Regions from separate parts of the Homo sapiens genome. Here region 2 is linked to region 1. Evidence: promoter capture Hi-C in 16 types of primary human blood cells and fetal thymus (Javierre and others, 2016). All regions are on one chromosome and are shown on one strand. Each heading gives the region's core, a stretch centred on a gene start or on the middle of the fragment in contact. The rest is flanking DNA. Distances are from core to core; before and after follow the strand shown. Region 1 holds the start of LMAN2 (lectin, mannose binding 2). Region 2 overlaps DBN1 (drebrin 1).

Region 1 (4,735 bases), core at 940-3,439:
AATAGAAAGGTGGAGGAAGGAAGGCAAAACAATTGTACTCCAGACTGAAAATTCGATGAAGGCAAGTGCAGAAGCCTCTCAGTCCTGTGACATCCTCGAGCCACTGATGATGCCAACCATCAGCTATCTACAACCAAAATGTAAGCCACTGTCTTAGATGCGTCTATTACTTGTGGCTACTCCTGATTTCTACAGTTCCAGCACTGTTTGCACCTTGCTTTCAAAAAATAATAATAATGCTATACTGAACTCATTTCCATGAAAAATATAAGGCTGAATTATCATTTCTTTAAAATATCTGAAAGCCCTAAGACAGAATGTGACAGAATGTGACTCGGGGGAGATAGGGTGGTTAATGAAGAAATGTCTGCGTGGGTGGCACTTGAATTGAGACTTAACAGATGAGAAGGAACCAAGCAGGCATGAGGAGCCAGGAGGCAGTGTCCCAGACAGAGGGAACAACAGGTGCAAAGGTCCTGAGGCAAGAAGGCAGCCAGGGGGGGCTGGAACAAAATTAACACAGAGAATGACTGGAGATGCACAAGGGGCCAGATTGTGCAGACATAATGCATGCTTACCCCTTCACAGGGGACTCCACGCTCTGAGGATCAGACTGAAAGCTGAAGAAAGTATCCGCAGATGCCACTAACAGCAGTGTGGAGGCTCGGGGCAGGAAGGAGAGGAGGAGCAGAGGGGACGGGCAGACCAGGCAACACAAGGACAGTGTGGGTTCCCAGAACTAAACAAGAAAGTCAACCAGCAGGGATCAGAGAGCAGGGTGATGGAGAAAACTAGAACACTGGCCAACAGCTTAAGCCATGGGAAGGGCTGAGATTAGGCAAGCTGGGGCAGGAGCAGGTCCCGCTCCAAGCTGTAACCCAGCCCCAAATTATTCTTCTTTCCCCTTTTTCCTCACCTTGACTGCCTCAGTGTGGATTCTGTGTAGCAGCTGTCATTGGCCACTGCTCACATACTACATACTACATACTCTGAGGCAAAGGTCACAGACACTAGAACTGCCCACAGGTCCAGTCCCTCCACACTACTGATGACAAGACCCTCAACCAAGCATTGCAAAAAGGGTTCTAAGGGGTTCCTCCACTGTCCAGGTGAAAAGAGTCAAGTACATCGAGTGAACTGCTGGGCTTAGAGATCAGACAAATCAGAGTTTAAATACTGTTTATGACATTTGCTAGCTGGGTTATCTTTGTATAGTCATGAAAGCCATCTATTTCAAACAGCTTGTTTGAAAATTAAATGCAATAAGGCATGGCAAGGTCAGTGCCTAATACACAGCAAAACACCCAATAAAGATCCAGTTCGCTCGGTTCTTCCCATTACTGAGGGGGTTCAAGGCAGACAGCCTGACAGTTCCACTACTTTCTGGCTATGTAACTTTGGGTAAGGCCCTTTCAAACCTGAGTCTTAGCTTCTCAGTGGGTAAAATGGAGATAACATTACTCATCTCGCATGGCTTTTAAAGTGAGGAGGATGTAAAGTGTCAAGCGCAGCTCCTGACACATAGTAAGTACCCAATACCCATCGCCTCTTATTATTGGTGGGTGTGACCGAGATGAGGAAAAGGCCAGGGACGGAGGTGCAAACCTATAAACGAAGCTGGGGTCTCAGCTGCTCGGGAGGCAGGGACTAGCAGCCAACCGCACAGTACGCCTATCCTCTTGAGAACCACTCACCTGGTGGTTCCAGATAGAGCCCTCTTTGCTGCGCTCGTCAGGGGTCAGACGTACGTACTGGCTCGTGAGCATAGTGCTGCCCTGGAAGTCCCAGAGGGGCATAGAGCTGGAACCGACCCCTGTGGGAAGAGACAGGTGCTAAGAGGCCACGCCAGGACTGGCCTCACCAGAGGCAGGAAACCCACAGAGATGCTCTGCTCAGGAGAAAGGGCACGCCTTCCCCTAGCCCTGTTCAGCCTCGCCCTCACTCTTCACTCATTCCCGCCCCAAGGGCTTCACCTTGGTAGGGCTTAATGAGCGAATGCTCCCGCTTGAGATGTTCACTGTTGCCGTCAGTTATATCCGCAGTCACAGACCCCAACAACAAAAGAAGAAAGAGAGGTGTAGTGGGGCCAGGGCCGGGGCCGAGAAGCCCAGGCCTTCCCAGGCACCGCCGGCCCCAGCCCCAACGCCAAATCCAGCCTTCCGCCGCCATTCTCCTCTCCTCTCGGCCACTTCCGCCCTAGAACTTCCGCCTTCCGGGGGTCCCATCTATTGGCCTCCGGCCGGAAGCTCTTCAACTTTACTGTCGCCAGGGAGTCAAAAAGCAAAGCCTCCGCAGCAGACGGGGCGGCAGCTGCATTGGCCGGGCAGCCTCTCATCCTGGTTGAGTGCAGTTTCATCTCCTTAGAGGCTCCAAGGCACACGCCGGCCAGCCCCAGCAATGGGTTCTTTCGAGCGACAAGAGCTGTAACCAGTCACGGAACAGCACGTTAGGCTTGCGAGCCAATGAGGAGCAGAGGGATGGTTGGAGCCGGCGGGAGCGCGAGGGCCGTCCGCGACTCGGGGCATGCTGGAATTTGTAGTTTTTGTCGGTCGCTCTAATGGGGCGGATTCGCGAAGACTAGGACGTCTTGGGCTTCTGGCCGCAAGTCCCGTCTCTGGAATAACCTTTTCTAGTCCTGGAGAAAGGAGCTCTGAATTGAAGGCGGAGTCCTGCATTCCAACCCTTGTCCTCCCCGGGTGGCCCTGGGCAAGCCTTTAAGCCGTGCCTGCCGTCAGGCGCCCCAGCTTCGCGCCTTTGGAGACTCAGAATTCCCAATTATTTGAGGGCCTCCACTACCCTCAACTCCTCAGGCCTAGTCGGGTTGAAGCAAGAGGAACAGACACAGATCCTGGCCTGGGACCCCAGTGATGACTGGAACTCATCCCTATGCAAAAGAGCGCAGTGCCTGGTACAGCAAGTAACGTCCATGGAAGGCCCAGGAAAGCTGTGAATCAGAGGTCGAAAACTGGTGGCCTGCAGCTGAATAGAGCTCTGTTTTACCTGCCAATATTCTAATAAATGGCTTAACTACCAGTATTTTAAAGTCAGAATATAGAGGCTGGGCGTGGTGGCTCACGCCTGTAATCCCAGCACTTTGGGAGGCTGAGGCCGGCGGATCACGAGATCGGGAGATCGAGACCATCCTGGCTAGCACGGTGAAACCCCGTCTCTACTAAAAAATACAAAAAATTAGCCGGGCGTGGTGGCAGGTGTCTGTAGTCCCAGCTACTCGGGAGGCTGAGCCAGGAGAATGGCTTGAACCCAGGAGGCAGAGCTTGCAGTGAGCCGAAATCGCGTCACTGCACTCCAGCCTGGGCGACAGAGCGAGACTCTGTCACACACACACACACACACACACACACACACACACACACACACAAAGTCGGAATATGTACATTCACATCAGAAATCCAGACTTCCGGCTGAGCTCAGTGGCTGAGGCCTGTAATCCTAGCACTTTGGGAGGCAGAGGCGAGCAGATTACCTGAGCTCAGGAGTTTCAGACCAGCCTGGGCAACACGGTGAAACCCCGTCTCTACTAAAATACAAAAGAAATTAACGGCGTGGTGGCGGACACCTGTAGTCCCAGCTACTCGGGAGGCTGAGGCAGGAGAATTGCTTGAACCCAGGAGGCAGAGGTTGCAGTGAGCAGAGATCACGCCATTGCATTCCAGCCGGGGCGACAGAGCAAGACTCTGTCTCTACAAAAAAAAAAAAAAAGAAGAAGAAGAAGAAGAAAAGAAATCCAGACTTCCGTTTTTTTACCCAAAAAAAAAAAAAAAGAAGCAGCAGCAAAAGATCTAGGCACACATTCCCACAACAGAACAATAGGCTGGAGCTGAATGGGACTGCCCCTCCACCAATGCCTTCCTCTTCTAAGCTGGTCCCCACCTGGTCACTCGTTTACAGCACTTGCCTGGCTCCTCCAGACATTTGAATCAATGACTCCTGTTGTAGATCACAGGGAGGGATGTTGGTTGCTTGCTCCTTTTAGAAACTGCCCTCTTGAATGAATGGACTTATTCAGGATTGAGTGCTGAATCTTTTCTTGGTCATATATTTTTCGTTCGCTTTTTTATTATTAAAGTCACACATTCTGGTCAGGCACGGTGGCTCACACCTGTAATCCCAGTAGTTTGGGAGGCCGAGGTGGGTGGATCACTTGAGGCTAGGAGTTCGAGACCAGCCTGGCCAACATAGCGAAACCCTGTCTCTACAAAAAATTAGCTGGGTGTGGTGGTGCACACTTGTAATCCCAGCTACTCAGGAGGCTGAGGCACGAGCATCACTTGCACCTGGGAGGTGGAGGTTGCAGTGAGCCAAGATCTTGCCACTGCACTCCAGCCTGAGTGACAGAGTGAGACTCTGTCTCAAAAAAGTCACACATTCTTGTGGTGTGTATGGAAACAGAGAGAGAACAGACATACAAGACACAACAAGCCAGGCATGGTGGCTCACACCTGTAATCCCAGCACTTTGGGAGGCCAAGGCAGGTGGATCACTTGAGGTCAGGAGTTCGAGACTACCCTGGCCAACATTGTGAAACCCTGTTTCTACTAAAAATACAAAAAATTAGCCGGCCATGGTGGCGGGTACCTATAATCCCAGCTACTCAGGAGGCTGAGGCAGGAGAATCACTCGAACCCAGGAAGCGGAGGTTGCAGTGAGCCAAAATTGTGCCATTGCACTCCAGCCTGGGCAACAAGAGTGAAACTCCATCTCAAAAAAAGAAAAG
Region 2 (4,735 bases), core at 1,554-4,053, 110 kb after region 1:
CAGCAGGGACGGCCTGTGGCGGGACCCCAGCATGGGGCAAGCACACTCAGACCAGCAGACAGGGCAGGGAAGAGCTTCAGGAGAGGCGGAAGCAGCACACTGAGAAGCGGAACGGGGACACCTGGGTGCAAGCTCCGGGAGGCTCCCTCAGGCCCGGGGCAAGAGCCCAGCACGCATGCATTCCGGCCTTCCAGGCCAGACCTAATTCACCCCAGCCGAGCTGCTCCCCGTGGCCAGCGCTGTGCCTCAGCCCATGCCAGAGCTGCCCCACAGGCCCTAGCACTCCCCACTGTTCAGCCACAAGCGACTTCACCACCATCCCTGGCCCTTCTTGGGGTCCTGCCACCTGGGAAGTGGTGGGCGGATGCACGCTGGATGAAGGGTCTCGCCTTCTCCAAGGGTTGCTTGGGCAAGGCCTCCCTTCTGAGAGAGTCCCAGAGAGGCTCAGGGCCGCAACCTGAGGAGTGGGGCCGGACGGGGGGTGGGGCCTAGGACTACCTGGTCGATGGTTGAAGGGCGAGGGTACATCACAGCTGCCCGCAGAGGCCGATGCGACTCTTTCCTGCTGCTTGAAGAACTCCCTTGGGTTGTCAGGCCGCTGGGCAATAATAGCTGCTGCCTCCTGAGGGCACGAGGAAAAGGTTGGGGCTGGGCCAGGCAAGCTGAGATAGCCCTGTCTGCCTCACCTGGCTGGTGCCCCCAGCTCTCACCTCCACCTCCGACTCTGACTTCTTCATGTGGGTCTCTTCCTCCTCATCCCGATGGTCACCCTAGAAACCAAAGGGACAGTGTCTGGTGCACCTACCCCCCACAGGGGCTTTTGGCCTTCTTTTTTACTGTATTTTATTTATTGATTTTGTTTTTAAGACAGGTTCTCGCCCTACCACCCAGGCTGGGGAGCAGTGGTACAATCACGGCTCACTGCAGCCTCTGCCTCCTGGGCTCAAGCAATCCTCCCACCTCAGCCTCCCGAGTAGCTGGGACTACAGGTGTGCACCACCATGCCCGGCTAATTTTAATTTTTTGGTAGAGATGGGGTCTCCCTATGTTGCCCAGGCTGGTCTCAAACTTCTGGGCTGAAGGGATCCTCCTGCCTTGGCCTCCCAAAGTGTTGGGATGGATTACAGTCATGAGCCACCAGTGCCCGGCCTTCTGGCCTTCTTTTTTTTTTTTTTTTTTTTTTGAGACGGAGTCTCGCTCTGTCGCCCAGGCTGGAGTGCAGTGGCGGGATCTCGGCTCACTGCAAGCTCCGCCTCCCGGGTTCACGCCATTCTCCTGCCTCAGCCTCCCAAGTAGCTGGGACTACAGGCGCCCGCCACTACGCCCGGCTAATTTTTTGTATTTTTAGTAGAGACAGGGTTTCACCGTTTTAGCCGGGATGGTCTCGATCTCCTGACCTCGTGATCCGCCCGCCTCGGCCTCCCAAAGTGCTGGGATTACAGGCGTGAGCCACCGCGCCCGGCCCCTTCTGGCCTTCTTACAGCCCCCATGCTTCTTTCGCAATCTGGCAGGAAGGGTTTCAGAGGTGGTACCTCTGCCCCGTCAAACCCTGTCACACAGCCCCTCTCTTCCCTCAGGGCCCTCAGCCACCTCATCTCTGACCTGCCAGGCCTCTGGGCACCAGGCTCACTCACTCACTTGCTCATCCCCATATCTAAGCAGGTGCCTAGGGCCCTCCAGAAGTGCTCCTTGTTTTGCAGATAACTTCTTGGACCTCCTACCCTAGTGCCGGGGCCACCATGCTCCCAATGTTGCTGCCTGGACCGTGGCATCATGGTCCAGCCTTCCTCACTGCTACCTGCCTTATTTGCTCTCCATAGGCCCTGAAAGGACCTTTCCAAAATGCGGATCAGACCATGATTTTCCTGAGCTTAAAATCCCTCAGGGGTTCCCATGAGCCACAGCAAGCACTGGCTAAATATGACCCACAGATGGCTTTTGTTTTGCTGGTATGATATTTTTAAACCATGTTCATTAGTTACCACCACTTAAAAACCAGGAACTTTCATACTGAGATGAGGGTCCCAGTTTCTCTTGAGGTGACAGAGCCCTGGCGACATCACCTGCAAGCCCGGAGCAGCCATCACCGGGGCCTCGCCGCAGCCCCCTTAAGACAGGCGTGTGCCACCCGCTCACCCCCGGCCCCACCATCGCCTACTGGCTTCACCTGCCCACTGCACACGTTGTTTTGGGTGGGCAGCGCCCGCACTTGGCCTACGTCCCCCACCCCTGCCTGACCTAGCCGTCACCTCTCCAACACCACCCCCTGCCGGCCCCCACCCCAAGGCTCCCACATACTGTGAGATGTAGACATCAAGTCCTCAGCACGACGCAGTCAGTTCCCAGAACAGGCACACCCGTTCCCACCTCCAAGCCTCAGCATGGGAGACTGGCCTCCCTCCCAAATGCCTGCTCCCCACCCGGGGGCCAGGCCCTCTGGTTTCCAGCTGCAGCGTGGCCACTGCTTCCTGGGGAAGGACCTCTGAACAAGAGGCTTGTTCAGGTCATTTCCTCCTCTGGGTCCCCACAGGGTGCTCCTGGCTTCCACCACGATGACACCACATCCTAAGTTCCTGTTTCCGGAGGCACCTCCCCCCTCCGCTGTGAGCAACGCAGGATGAGGACCGGGGTCTCCGGGTGGGTGGCCAGCACAAGGCGGGCGCATGTTTGCTCAACTGCACTCACACACCAAAGGCTTCTTAGTCGGTGTCCCCTGCTGCTCAGGTGGCAGCTTGGGCAGGAGGGGCTGCTAAGGTGGTGAAGTCCCAGGGCTGCTCTGTTTTTGAGCCTATAATCTAAAATTTTAGCTTATGTCAGGAGCACTGGGAGAAGGGCCCTTCGTAGTATCCCACCTCAGGAGGGCTATCACCTCAGTGATAACTTTGTGACCCCCAGAATGAAGTCTAAACTCCTCCTCTGCCCTTGCTCTCCTTTCCCAATCAAATCTCCCCCACTCCTCAGCCCACGGGGTTCCAGTCAGCCTAGGCTCTTCACCTTCCCATGAGCCTGTGTCCCACCAGCCTTTGCTGCTCTGCCCACTGCCTGCTGTAATCTCAGTTGGTTCCTCTGCCTTGTTCAAAGAAAGGACCAGAGGCAACTACCACAAAGGCTTTTTTTTTTTTAATCTGAGACAGAGTCTTTCACTCAGGCTGGAGTGCAGTGGCGAGATCTCGGCTCACTGCAAGCTCCGCCTCCCGGGTTCACGCCATTCTCCTGCCTCAGCCTCCCGAGTAGCTGGGACTACAGGCGCCCGCCACCACGCTCGGCTAATTTCTTGTATTTTTTAGTAGAGACGGGGTTTCACCATGTTAGCCAGGATGGTCTCGATCTCCTGACCTCATGATCCGCCTGCCTTGGCCTCCCAAAGTGCTGGGATTACAGGCATGAGCCACTGAGCCCAGCCCTCCACAAAGGCTTTAATAAACTACCAACCATGTGAACACTGAAACAAGTAAGGCCCAGAGGGAGGAGAGAGATCAACGCACTAACCACATGGGTCAAAGCCACTGCTGTGCCTAAAGCATTTTCAGATACACGGGAGCTCCCCTGCAGGCCAGGCAAAAAGGGAACTCAGATATGGAACACAATTCGTAACAGGGGAGAGAAAGCAACAGCTCCTTAAGCCAAGAGAAAGCATTTCACAGTGCTAAATCCCAAAGTCTCTCGCATATTCCCTTCCTTAGAGGACCTGAAATTGAAAGGGTACCACACTGACCTGCTAGAATGTCCACTGTCACTCTCACGTGAACTATACTTGAAGGGCCAGATGGGACTATAAAATAATGGTAAGCTCCTTCAGACTTTACCTGAAATGTTGATAACTGGTGAAAATAAATCAGCTCAGGGGGTTCACAACACTATTCTGTCTACCTGCATGTGTGTATGTTTGAAATGTTAGCAAAAAAATAAACTTTATCAGGGCTGGGTGCAGTGCACTTTGGGAGGCCGAGGTGGGAGGATCACCTGAGGTCAGGAGTTTGAGACCAGCCTGGCCAACATGGTGAAACCCTGTCTCTACTAAAAATACAAACATTAGCCGGGCATGGAGCCGTGCACCTGTAATCCCAGCTACTTGGGAGGCTGAGGCAGGAGAATCGCTTGAACCCAGGAGGCAGAGGTTGCAGTGAGCTGAGATGGCGCCATTGCACTCTAGCCTGGGGGACAAGAGTGAGACTTCATCTTAAAAAAGATAAATAAATAAAAATAAATAAATAAATAAATAAACTTTATCAGGCAGGGTGCGGTGGCTCACGCCTGTAATTCCAGGACTTTGGGAGGCCGAGACAGGTGGATCACGAGGTCAGGAGTTCGAGACCAGCCTGACCAACACGGTGAAACCCTGTCTCTACTAAAAATACAAAAATTAGCTGGGCATGGTGGTGCACGCCTGTAATCCCAGCTACTCAGGAGGCTGAGGCAAGAGAATCGCTTGAACCCAGGAGGCAGAGGTTGCAGTGAGCTGAGATTGTGCCATTGCACTCCAGCCTGGGCGACAGAGCAAGACTCTGTCTCAAAAAAATAAAAATAAATAAATAAATAAACTTGGCTGGGTGAGGTGGCTCACACCTGTAATTCCAGCACTTTGGGAGGCCGAGGAGGGCAGATCATGAGGTTAAGAGATCGAGACCATCCTGGCCAACATGGTGAAACCCCATCTCTACTAAAAAGACAATAAATAAATAAATAAATAAATAAATAAATAAATAAATAAATAATAAACTTTATCTGCTGGGTG

Evidence for each region. The method cuts DNA at HindIII sites, captures the fragments that hold promoters and counts their contacts. A CHiCAGO score of 5 or more calls a contact.
Region 2: a contact is called between a fragment that was not itself captured here and the fragment with the promoter of LMAN2 in region 1, in 6 of 17 cell types (activated CD4 T cells, non-activated CD4 T cells, total CD8 T cells and 3 more). The highest score is 9.7, in activated CD4 T cells.

Annotation. Positions count from the first base shown.
Region 1 is chr5:177,349,479-177,354,213 of GRCh38, forward strand. It overlaps LMAN2 (lectin, mannose binding 2), which reads right to left and starts at 2,190. Exons shown (of 8, transcript NM_006816.3): 1 at 1,974-2,190; 2 at 1,695-1,813. The coding sequence starts at 2,169. RefSeq lists enhancers at 2,131-2,320, 2,331-2,380 and a silencer at 2,275-2,489. The HindIII fragment of the contact is 10,936 bases long and covers 1-4,735 here.
Region 2 is chr5:177,459,934-177,464,668 of GRCh38, forward strand. DBN1 (drebrin 1) reads right to left here. Exons shown (of 15, transcript NM_001363541.2): 9 at 711-770; 10 at 499-622. Among named protein-coding and RNA genes, the nearest start is that of DBN1, 11 kb to the right of the region's middle. The HindIII fragment of the contact is 7,642 bases long and covers 1-4,735 here.